Regions from separate parts of the Homo sapiens genome. Here region 1 is linked to region 2. Evidence: promoter capture Hi-C in 16 types of primary human blood cells and fetal thymus (Javierre and others, 2016). All regions are on one chromosome and are shown on one strand. Each heading gives the region's core, a stretch centred on a gene start or on the middle of the fragment in contact. The rest is flanking DNA. Distances are from core to core; before and after follow the strand shown.

Region 1 (5,929 bases), core at 3,209-5,708, 270 kb after region 2:
ATGGTGCTTGAAGACTCATAGAGGTATTGCCTTGGTGGTCTTGGATAAGATCTGGAAGAATTCTCTGGACTACCAGGCAGAGACTCTTATTCTTTACCTGTAATTTCTCCTAAATAGTTTCAGTCTCTCTTTCTCTCTCTCTCTCGCTCTCGCTCTCTCGCTCTCTGCTGAGCCACTTGGAGCTGGGAGTGGGCTGACACAACATCCCTATGGCCACCACCACTGAGACTGCACTGGGTCAGACCTAAAGCCAGCAAAGCACTGGGTCTCACTCAGGGCCCACTGTCAACACTACCTGGCTATCGCCTATGTTCACTCGAGGCCCTGGGGCTCTACAGTCAGCAGGTGGCAAAGCCAGCCAGGCTTGTGTCCTTCCCTTCAGGGCAACGAGTTCCCTCAGGCCCTGGTGGGTCCAGAGATGCTGTCTGGGAGCCAGGGACTAGAGTCAAAAACCTTAGAAATTTACCTGGTGCTTTATTCTATGATGGCTGAGCTGGCACTGAAACCATGAGACAAAGTCCTTGCCATTCTTCCTTCCCCATTCCACAGGAGGAGGAGCCTCACCCTGTGGCCACCTCCACAGGCCCACAGGGAGTGCTGCCAGGCTACTGTCAATGTTCACTTAGGGCCCAAGGGCTCTTCAGTCAGCCTGTGGTGAATGCTTCTAGGCCTGGGACTCACCCTTCAGGGCAGTGGGCTCCCCTCTGGCCCAGGGCAGGTCCAATAGCTTGTCTGGTCCAGGGCTTGTCTAATAGCCAAGGCCTAGAATCAGTAACCACAAGAGCCCATTTGGTGCTCTCTGCCCCATTGTGTCCAGGGAGGTACCTAAGCTGCAAGACAAAGTCCCTTTTACCTTTCCCTCTGCTTTTCTCAAGTAGAAGAAGTCTCTCACCACAGCCACCATAGCTGGGAATATGCTAGGTCTCACCTGAAGCCAGCATGTCTCAGAGCCTTACTCCAGGCCCAAAGCATACCACCTGGGTATCACTGTTGGCTCTGCAGGGCCCAAGGGCTCTTGAGTCAGCAGGTGATGAATCCTGCCAGGACTGGGTTCTTTCCTTCAAGGCAGCAGATTCCCTTTTGGCCCAGGGTGTGTCTAGAAATGTCACTTCAGGAGCTAGGTTCTGGAATGGGGGCCTCTCTACTCTGACTGGTGTTCTATCCTACTGTGGCTGAGCTGGTATCCAAGATGTAAGACAAAGTCCTCTTTACTCTTCCCCCTCCTCTCCTCAAGCAAAAGGAAGAAGTCAGTTTAGTTGTTGCAAGCTGCGCTGCCTGGGGTTGCGGGAGGGGTGGTGCAAGCACTCCCTTGGCTGCCCTGGCTGGTGTCTCTCTAGGTTGTGTGCCACCTGAGTCCACTGGCTCTGAGCCCAGCATGGCATCAGGACTTGACTAGGAGTTGAAGTCCTTATGGTCTAGACTGCCTTTCAAGTGTATTTAGGGCCCCAGGGCATAATAGCCTGCCATGCCAAGGCTTGTCAAAACCCAAGCCTCAAGCCTCCTAACTACTGGGATGGGTGAACCCCTCTGGGTAGGGCTGGTCTAAATGCTCCCTCCATGGGCAGGTGTCACATGAGTTCCACCTGGTTTCACTTTCTGCTGTGACAGGGCAGCACTGAGTTGAAGGCAGAGTCCCACAGTTGCTGCATTCTCCCTCCCCCAGGTGCACAGATTCTCAGCACCACAGCGGCCGCTGCTGGGAGATGGGAGAGGAATGGCCTCGGTGTTTCAAGACTGTCTCTCCTACCCTCTTCAGTGCCTCTTTCAGTGTTATGAAGTTAAACCCAGGTACTGTGAGTCCTCACCTGATATTTGGTTCTTATGATGATGCTTTTTTGGTGTAGACAGTTGTTAAATTTGATTTTCCTGCAAGGAGAATCACTGATGGAGACTGCTATTCAGCCATCTTGCTCTGCCCCTCCTCCCTCACTTAACTTTACCTCCTAAGAGCCCTGTTTCCAAATACAATCACATAGGGGTTAGGGCTCCAAGTGTGAATTTTGGGGAGACACAATTCAGTCTATAGCATTTGGACTTGGGAAGAGGGAGGAAGAGAATATTCAGAGGAAGGTCACAGTGTAAGCAACAGTATGGAGGTGGGAAAGTTCAGCTCATGGATAGGAAAAATTGATCCAAGTTGGCAGGGCCCACAGGGAGATGTGGTGGGGTGGTGAGAGGTGGCCACATCAAAAGAACCTTGAATGCCAGGCTGAGGTGGGAGGCATTTCCTGTCATGTAGAAGGTGCCATGAGGTGGTGGGGAGGGTAACAGGATGAAAGGATATTTGGGAGGATGGATCTGGCATCAGTGATGGGTAGGGGTAAGGAGTGAACAAAGCTGGAGGCCAGGAAACTGGACACATGGCCCAGAGTTCAGGGTTAGGCTCTTCAAAGGCAGTTTCCACACTGAGTTCCCATGTGGATCCAAGCATACAGGGGGTAGATGATTTGGAAAAGCAAAACCATTCTCTTCCCATTACCACACAGTTTCCCAGCTGAGCTCATCACCAGAGTCCTACAAATCAGACAGTCAACCTGCCCCAAACTCTTCCCCTAGAAGCTGTGACCCAGAAGGAGTCCTCATCGAGCTGTAGCCCAGGGACACCGCAGCCTGAGCAGGACTGCACCTGTTCCCCCCCAGGAGCCTCATCTCTGTCTGGCCTGGCTTTGGCTTCAAATGCCCTCAGCTTTGGCTTCAAAAACTGTTGAGTCAGATTCATGAGAGCTCTGGCCTTCTTCAGTTTAGGGATTTTTAAATAGTTTTTTTCAAGCAGGCAGTAGATGAGCTCTGCTTGCTTACCTCTAAGAATTGGCTAGAACTCACAGAAAGCTGTTATACTCATAGTTATGGCTTGATTACATGGAAAGGAGACAGATTAAAATCAGCCAGGGGAAGAAAGGCATAGTGCTGGGTCCAGGAGAGCACCAGGCATGGAGTGTCCATTATCCCTTCCCCATGCAGTCAGAGTGCATTACCCTCCCGGCTTTGCTATGTGCCAATACACATGGAGTATTCTCAGCCAGTGAGGCTCCCTCAAGCCTCAGTGTTCAGGGTTTTTATTGGAACTTCATCAAAGAGGCATGATTGATTGTCCATGTGGCTGCTCTCAGTTTCCAGTCTCCAGTCCTTTTAGGGGTGACCTAAAGCCTGGACTCTAAATCACATAGTCACTTTTCCTGGCTTGGCTAGTTCCCACTATCTTTTTTTTTTTTTCTTTTTTTTTTTTTTTGAGACGGAGTCTCACTCTGTCACCCAGGCTGGAGTGCAGTGGTGCGATCTCGGCTCACTGCAAGCTCTGCCTCCTGGGTTCACGCCATTCTCCTGCCTCAGCCTCCCAAGTAGCTGGGACCACGGGTGCCCACCATGACGCCCAGCTAATTTTTTGTATTTTTAGTAGAGACGAGGTTTCACCATGTTAGCCAGGATGGTCTCGATCTCCTGACCTTGTGATCCGCCCGCCTCAGCCTCCCAAAGTGCTGGGATTACAGGTGTGAGCCACCGCGCCCGGCCCCCACCATCTTATTATTAGACTATCCATCATGACCCAAGATCCCCAGGCAAAGATATTCCTATCAGGCATTACGTGTTGAAGATTACCTCCCAGGAGTCTAGGACAAAAGCCAGACCTTTTTTTGGTCAAGCTTAATTTTTTAACATGTCATCATTCTGTTATCCTTCCTATCTGTTTTATCTTCAAAATAACCCTAATTGATGGGTTATTTTGGTTATCTATAATAAACATAAGAATGTTTATTATAGATGAGATCTCAAAAGGAAGGACACTTGAGCAAAGTTGCACAGTTGATCCTTGACTCATGGTACAAGACTCTTTCCACTACTCTGAGAGCCCTGAGTCCTGAGAAGAAGATGGAAGGAAGGTGGGTATACGTGTGTGTGCACGTGTGTGTGTGTGTAAATGTATTTCTAATGAGTATGTGTGGATATATGTGTGTCTCTGTGTGTGTGTATACATGTGGAGGTCTGTGTGTCTATATGTATGTTTGTGTGTGTGTGTGTGTGTGTACACATGCTCAGGGGGAAGGTTAAAGAGAAAATCAGCAGGGTGCAGTGGTGCACACCTGTAATGCCAGCTACACAAGAGGTAGACAGGGGAGGATCACTTGAGCCTGGGAGTTTGAGAGAGAGAAAATTTCAATAATCTTCTTCTTGCAGTTAGAAGGAAAAACCTGGGGCTGAGCATAAAGAGACATAAAGCACAGCATAAAGAGGCAGAGAAATGTCTAAGGGAGAACAAGTGACCAAGAATTAATTAGTTCATCTATAAAGAAATAGAGCACTTTAGCAGCAGAATAAAACTGGAAGATAATTTCCTCTAGAGCCCTGATAATCTTTGTGAGAAAACTGTTGGTCACATTAATTGCAAAAACTTGCAGGACTCTCTGCAACAGAACTGGCTAGTAAAACCATCTTTATAAAACTCACTATGCTACAAGTGGCATTCAACTCTTTCTCAACCAAGATTTCACAAACCTATCTCCAGCTTCCAGATGGTGAGGGAAAGTGTGATGAGACTTTATGATAAATTGTGCCTGTCTCTGAGCCCATCTCCTCCCGTTGAAGAGGAGGAAAATGAGGATAGCACATTATAACCCTGCCTGACAAAAGTCACAAGATAAGCAAATAATTATTATTAAAACCAGAGAGTCCTATAATTTATTCATGAATCCCACACATTCTATATTAGATCTTCCATTTCAATTTCTTGTATTCTTTGAAGCAAATTTATAAGATTTGAATTATTCAGAAAAGCTCCCAAGCTAATATAAGAAAACACTTTAACCACAGGAAGTATCATGCTACACAATATGGTGTGGTGGTGAAGGGTGCAGGCTCTAAAACCAGAAAACCCAGGTTCAAGTCCTGGCCCTACCACCTTGGGAGAGTTACATGGTCTCTCTGTGCCTCCATTTCCCCATCTAAAATGTGGGGATGACAATAATAGTGTCTATTTCACAGAGTTGTTTTGAGGAAAATAATATATGTAAAGCACTGTGAACAGCAGTCAGTGCTATGTAAGTGTTTGCTCTAGTTATTTTAACATTTTGGATTATAAATATCTACCCTGTTATTCAGATGACAAGCATCCCTAAGCTGATAACATGATGAAGAGCTCTTGTGTTCCTTGATTTTCCCTCAGCTTTGTGAGGAAAAGAATACCACATGAAGAAGAACAACTCAAGCAGGGGTGAGAAGGAAACTTGGCTTAAGTTTGGGGGGCTTGAGTTTATTAGGCTTTTGTCTTCTAAAAATCTCCTAAGCTTCATTGATAAGATGTTTAATATCAATCTAGCTAAAAAGGACCAATATACCCCACAAAACACTGAGTTAGACATAAAAACAGAAGGGTAATAAATGAAATATGGAAAACTACACAACCAGAAAAATAAACAACTACCAGTACCCAAAACATGGCTAAATCTCACAGGATTATGTTGAGTGAAAGAAGCCAGCCACAAACCTGCACATACTGAATGATCCCATTTATATGAAGTTCAAGAACAGGTGAAACTAATCCATGGTGACAGAGGTCAGGATCCTGGTTAACTTTGCAGGGACAGCAACTAAGAAGGCGCAAGAGGGAGCCCTCTGTGCTGATGGGAACATTCTGTATCTTGAGCTGAGTGGCGGTCACATGAGTGTGCACATATGTAAATAGTAAGGAGTTGTAGCTTAAGGTATATGCACCTCGCTGTATGTAAGATACTGTCTTAGTCCATGTGTGCTGCTGTAACAAAATATCTGAGACTGGGTAATGTGTAAAGAACAAAAATGTATTTCTCACAGTTCTGGTGGGTGGGAAGTCCAAGATCAAAGCGCCAGCAGGTTTGTAGTCTAGTGAGGGCTGCTCTCTGCTTCCAAGATGGCACCTTGAATGCTGAGTCCTCCAGAGGTGAGAAACGCTGTGTCC
Region 2 (6,487 bases), core at 473-2,972:
TTAGGTCATTAAGTAGATTATTTATCGTGTATGTAGATTATATTACCTATGAATTTCATGCTGGGATTGTAAAGGAGATGTTACAAAATATAGCAAGGTGAATAAAGGAAATATATTGGAGTTTGGGTTGACAGGGCTTGGATCAATGATTAAAGGGAGTGGATGAAGGAGTCAGGTATAATGTGTTGATTTCTGGCTTGGGCAACCAGGTGGATGGTGGCGCCATTCGCTAATACAGGCAATACAAAAGGAATAGTAGGTTTAAGGAGGGAAATGACGAGTTCAGTTTTGGAGATTTTTAGTTTGAGGTGCCTTGGGATGTGGAGGCATCCCATGGGTACTAGGATATACACCTCCGGGTTTAGGAGATAGGCTCAGGTCACAGGCAGACTGGGAAGCATCAACATATTAACTAATAACTGAAGTCAAAGGAAGTGTGAGATGGGCCAGGGAAAATGGACAGAGGGAGGAGGTACAAGGCCAGAGCCCTGGGACACATTTAATGTCCAATATATTTTTTTTTGAGACAGGGTCTTGCTGTGTTGCTCAGGCTGGAGTGCAGTGGTGCAATCATGGCTCACCACAGCCTCAATCTCCTGGGCCCAAGTGATCCTCCCACCTCAGCCTCCTGAGTAGCTGAGACTACAGGTGCATGCCACCACACTCAGCTAATTTTTAAATTTTTTTTGTAGAGATAGGGTCTCACTACGTTGCTGTGTTTGGTCTTGAACTTTTCAGCTCAAGCCATCCTCCCACTTTGGCCTCCTAAAGTGCTGGAATTACAGGCATGAGCTACTGTGCCCATCAAGTGCCCAGTACATTTAAAAGCTGGGCGGAGGAAGAGGTCTGCAGAGGAGCCTGAGATCAAGCACCCTTAGGAGAAGAAACAAAAGTAGAGTCTGAAGTCACAGAAGCTGATGGAAGAGTATTTTTCAACAATGGGAGAGAACCAGTCAAGATTGAGATATGTGAGATTAGAAAGTGGAGTTATAGCTGGCCTTGGCTAAAGGCATTTCTGGGAGTGGAAGCCAGACTGGAAGAGGATAAGAAGTGGGTGGGGGAGAGCCGAGTATGAGCGACTCTTTCTGGTAAGTTGCTGCGACAGGAGATAATGCTGGGTAGGTGGAGAACACAGGGACCGGAGGAGCTGAGGCGGAAGGATGGAGAGGCTTAAGCATGTGTTAACTGCCACTGGGAAGAAGTCGGCAATCACGGAAGCTACCGGAGGGTAAGAAAAAATTCATTCATTCAACAGTTGAGCGCCTCCCACGCGCCCGATCAGTATGGCCGCCCCCACTTGAAAACACGCGTGTGGGCCGCCCACGTCTGACAAGTTAATGCAAGGCTTTATAGTTAGGGGAAAGCGGTTCTCCTTGAGCTCTTTCTCCTAGCAGTTCCGATTCCGACCCTGACTCCAACAGACACCTTGCGGGAACGCAAACACCGCTCGAATTCATGACCCCAATAGAAAACTTAAGGCCGCAACTAAGTAACGGATCGCTGCGAAGGCCAAACTAGCCACGCCAACGCCCCCACTGGAGCCTCCCCAGCGCTCCGCCCCCGCTCGCGAGAACAGCGGCGACGGCGCGAGAAATCGCTTTCTGGTTAGCTCCGCCCCTTCCCTTTCTTTGTTTTCCTGTCCGACGATCTCGCGGGAGTTAGGCGACAAATCCCGCGAGCGCAGACCCGGGGCTGGCTCTGCTGCTCTCGCGATATTTGCGCGAGCCTGCTTCCTTCTTTCCTCCCTTGCCAGTCCGCCTGTCTTCCTCCCCGTCTTCCCTGCCCGGCCTCCCCCTTCTTCCCCCGCTGGCCCCCTCCCCGGAGGGATAATATGGTCTCCGGCGATGGACGCCCCAAAAGCAGGTCAGTTTCGGGCCTCCGAGCTGGGTCTGGCAGTTGGAAACGCGCGCTGCCTAGGCGCCGAATTCCTTGCTTTTCTCGCCTGGAGTCGCTCGGCAGGCGCCCAGGCCCTCGGGGCTCGGGTTGTGCTCCCCTCGGGGCCTGCCTGCTGGGCCGCCCTTTGAGCCTAGGCCGCGGAAGCTGGGGCTCCCGATCCCCACCCTCCTGCGCGACACCCGCAGGGCGGGCCACCCCACCGCTGGCCTTGACCCGCACCCCTCTCTCTCCGGTGGCCGCTGCCTGCTGCCAGCGGCTTCCTGGCCCCCGTCAGCAACACCAGGGGCAGGGAGAGGCCCACCGTCTTCTCCTGCCCGCCCCCCATTGGCGAGCGATGAAGGCGGGGGCCTGCGTCTCCGTGTTCGGGTCTCACGCAGCTAGATGTTGATTCCACGGTCCAGCCTAAGGCCCCTCAGTCTCTCTGTGCCTCTGGAAGCCGAATGAGGGGCAGTCAAGGTTGAACATTGGTCAGTCAGTTCTCCGACCATTTATTGCACCGCTGTCTCCTCCCCCGTCCACCTCCCTCTACAAAAAAAAAAAAAGAGAAAAAAATACTATTCATTCTGAAAATGGGCTGTGCTTATGTTTTCTCCTTTTGGATGAAAGCCTTAACAATGTTGAGGGTCCTGGCCACCCACCGCTATGAGTCTGCACAAAAGATCTGAAGGTTCTTTTCAACCTCAGGGCTGCCTCCCCGCCACTGCCCCCTAGAATGTTGGGAGCTGAGGCACGTTTAAATGAGACCTCTGGATCTTTGACTTAGTAGTTCAGCTTCAGTTCGTGCAAAACCAGAAGACTTGTCTCTTTCGGGTAGAATATGCTAATTTCCTAGAGATTCTGTTACTTTTATTTTCAGTACTAAGCCCTGGTAAGGACTTAACTGAGAAGTTTTTTTGTTTTGGTTTATTGAATGCTCTGTAAAAATCCGTCTTTTAGTTTTTTTTTTTAATCAGTCCCTCTAATGTTAATTGTGGAATTCACAAATTCCTGTCTCTGCAGTTTTCAAGACATGTCTTTCCAAAACGTCCCCGTGGATTATTTAAATCATTCTTATTGTCCCTTTCCAGGTATTCTTATCACATTTCAGGAGTGAATTATCTTACTAGTTTTTACTTGACAAATTATGGTTTAGAACTATGCTTTCCAGTGTGGTGGATACTAGCCCTGTGTGACTTTAAATTAATCAAAATTAAATAAATTAAAAATTCAGTTCCTCAGGCACGATAGCCACATTTCAGGTGCTCAATAGCCACACGTTGCTAATGGCTACTTTACTGGACAGCTCAAACATAGAATATTTTTACCATTGCAGAAAATTCTATTGGATAAAGCTAGTTTCCAGGTATTTTCAGCTGAATAAAATATTTTGTTGCTGCATTTAATGAAAATACAATTTTTTTTTCAGGATACGCCTTTGAGTACCTTATTGAAACATTAAATGACAGTTCACATAAGAAGTTCTTCGATGTATCTAAACTTGGCACCAAGTATGGTAATGTTGCTTTACATTTTCTTGGGTTTGTTTAGTCTCTAATAATGAAAATGCATTTGTCAAGCTGAGCTGAAGAAATTTTAAATGTATTTCCACCGTATTGTAACAGGTACACCTACACATACCTATACCATTTTAAAAACTCCTCCTGGGACAACTTCTGTTCAGGGAAGATGTAGGCCCACACCTTAACTTCTCATTTAAAAATCTAAGTTAATTAAGCACTAGTTTTTCCCCTCAAAGAAACCAATAATGCAGTTTTCAAACTTTTTTTTTTCTTGTTTTTGTGAAGACAGGGGTCTTGCTATGTTACCCAGGCTAGTTTTGAACCCCTGGGCCCAAATAATCCTCCCACCTCTGCCTCCCCAAGTTTTGGGATTACACATGTAAGCTACTGCGCCTGGCCTAATGTGATTTTTAGAAGAACCTGACTGACTGATGATAATTCTACACCAATTAAATGTATATTTTATTTTCTCTTTTCTTTTCTTTTTTTTTTTGAGACAGAGTCTTGCTCTGTTGCCCAGGCTAGAGCACAGTGTTGTGATCATAGCTCATACAGCCTTGAACTCCTGGGCTAAAGCAGTCCTGCCTCTGCCTCCCAAGTAACAAGGCCTACAGGTGTATGCCAACACATTTATATAAAAACATATTTTTATATTTTTTGTAGAGTTGGGGTCTTGCTGTGTTGCCCAGACTAGTCTCAGACTCCTGACCTTAAGTGATGCATCTGCCTCAGCCTCACAAAGTATTGGGATTGCAGGCCTGAGCCACTATGCCTGGCCTGTTTTACTTTGTCAAATGAACAGTGCCCACATCTATTCTTTTTGCCATCTGTTGAATAGGAATCACCAACAGGACCCATTGATTTGAATTTTTCTGAAGTATTGGGCATGGTTTGCCCCAACCTACACACCTGCAGTTTTGGCAGACATTCTCATTGACCTTATCAGGGTCAAACCTTTCTCTGTGGTCTCAGAAGAGTGAATGTGGGCGACCTATAGGGCATTGAATGGAAGTTTTGACTTTACTAACAGTTGAGTAACTTTCTCAATTGGGCCAATAGAGAGACCTCTTTAGAAGACTCATTATTCTTTGTGAACTTTTCCATGACAATGACATGAAAAGATAAATTGAATGCCACATCTGTTGCAGTCAGTTTTGGAAGGAGCTTTAATCTTGTTTTTTCTTGCATTATTTAATTAAGACGATTGTTCTTGTGATTTTTCTGTAGATTTTGAGGAATTTAAATATTCTTGACTGCTATGTGCAATATTTTTTGTGTATTGTGAAATACAGCTATTTTGGAGTATCTTAAAGAATCCCCATTTTAGAATTAGGCTGTCATTTAAAAATAAACAGTTTGCCAAAATGAGAGCAATATCCTTTACCTTGCATGTTTAGCTGCAGTGATTTGTGTTGATACGTTTGTTAAAGGAAGTTGGTCATTTTCTTAATGTATGTCTTTCACATTAATTTTATCCCTTCACTGATGGTGAGTTTGCATTAATTTTGAAAAGAAACAGCTAGATTGATCGTTTACAAGAATAGTCATTTTATTTCCCATTTACTTCTCCAAAATAATCTAGTGATACTGGCTTGGAAGTCTTTTAACCCAAATTTCATAGTTTAATAAATTAAAGGAGCACATAAGATGTTTTGAAAATTGAGTATAAATACTTTCTGTGTATAATCTGTAGAAATGTGCTTACTTGAAGGAAGATGACCTAAATTTCTCAAATTTAAGGAATCAGTAGGAAACTGTCAAAAACAACTGTAAAATGCATTGAAAGGGAATGATTGATAATCTGAAAGTTAAATTTTCCCTGGGAAATAAGTTGTCATGGGAATTTGTACATAACTGTACAGAGTACATGTGTACTTAACATAATTCCAGAATTACCAGTTTTTATAACCATGATAAATGTAATAATAGAATACCTGTGACTATAAATACTTTCAAAACAGAAAGTTGGTTTTTATGTGGGGTCAGTACCCTGGTTTTTATTTTATTTTATTTTATTTTATTTTACTTATTTTTTTGAGACAGGATCTTGCTCTGTCACCCAGGCTGGAGTGCAATGGTGTGATCTCAGCTCACTGCTGCCTCTGCCTCCTGAGTTCAAGCGATTCTCGTGCCTTAACCTCCCAAGTAGCTGGTACTATAGGCGTGCATCACCACACCCAGCTAGTTGTAGAGATGGTGGTTTTACCATGTTGGTCAGGGTGATCTCAAACTCCTGACCTCAAGTGATCCACCCACCTCAGCCTCTCAAAGTGCTGGGATTACAGGAGTGAGCCACTGCGCCCAGCCCCTCCTGCTTTTTTAATAGAGTGCTTATTATGAGAGGTTATTAAGTAATAATTACTTAAGTAATTTCCTAATAAGGAATAAAATTTGAAGAATTGACTTTGAAAGAAAGGAACAAGTTAGGTAGGAAGTATTTGGTTGTTTAACCTTAGAACAAAAAATCCTTATTGCATTTTTGAAAGGATCAGATTGAATTGCCTCCTAGACATATGCTTACAAGAAGACATTGCTTTGGTAGTCACCAAGGTACAGAGCCAGTCTTCTCCACCTCCATTCCACATTTTGATGCCTGCTAGGTTGAGAATGACTGTTGTAATGAGTAACGATTAATGAAGGGAATGGATTCTATCCCTCATAAATGTTACAGAGTAAAGATAGTTGAGAAACACTGTTCTAAGCTCCATGCTGACTATGTCAGGGATGCCTGCAGCTGCAAAGAACTGAAAACTTGCTGTCCAATGACTTTAAGAAATACGAGTTTATTTTTCTAACATAACGAAGTGTGGAGATTGGCAGACTGGGGCTGTGCAGCACCAATCTCCGCAAGGATCTAGGCTCGTCCTTTCTTCCCGTTCTGTTTTTATTCTTTTGGTTGCACCTCCAGGCATTATGTCCAAGTTAAATTTTCCCTGGGAAATAAGCTGTCATGGGAATTTGTACATAACTGTACAGAGTACATGTGTACTTAACATAATTCCAGAATTACCAGTTTTTATAACCATGATAAAAGCCCTCTCCAGGGGCTTTTGCCTCTTTGGCCAAAGTATCAGTGGCCACTCTTAGCTTCA

The links. The method cuts DNA at HindIII sites, captures the fragments that hold promoters and counts their contacts. A CHiCAGO score of 5 or more calls a contact.
Region 1: a contact is called between a fragment that was not itself captured here and the fragment with the promoter of IREB2 in region 2, in 1 of 17 cell types (fetal thymus). The highest score is 5.3, in fetal thymus.

The regions. Positions count from the first base shown.
Region 1 is chr15:78,702,185-78,708,113 of GRCh38, forward strand. It overlaps LOC105370913 (a long non-coding RNA gene), which reads right to left. Exons shown (of 3, transcript XR_932509.2): 2 at 5,804-5,921. Among named protein-coding and RNA genes, the nearest start is that of CHRNB4, 64 kb to the left of the region's middle. The HindIII fragment of the contact is 1,638 bases long and covers 3,640-5,277 here.
Region 2 is chr15:78,436,494-78,442,980 of GRCh38, forward strand. It overlaps IREB2 (iron responsive element binding protein 2), which reads left to right and starts at 1,723. Exons shown (of 22, transcript NM_004136.4): 1 at 1,723-1,863; 2 at 3,302-3,388. The coding sequence starts at 1,845. RefSeq lists enhancers at 1,258-1,337, 1,408-1,467 and a silencer at 1,938-2,177. The HindIII fragment of the contact is 13,990 bases long and covers 1-6,487 here.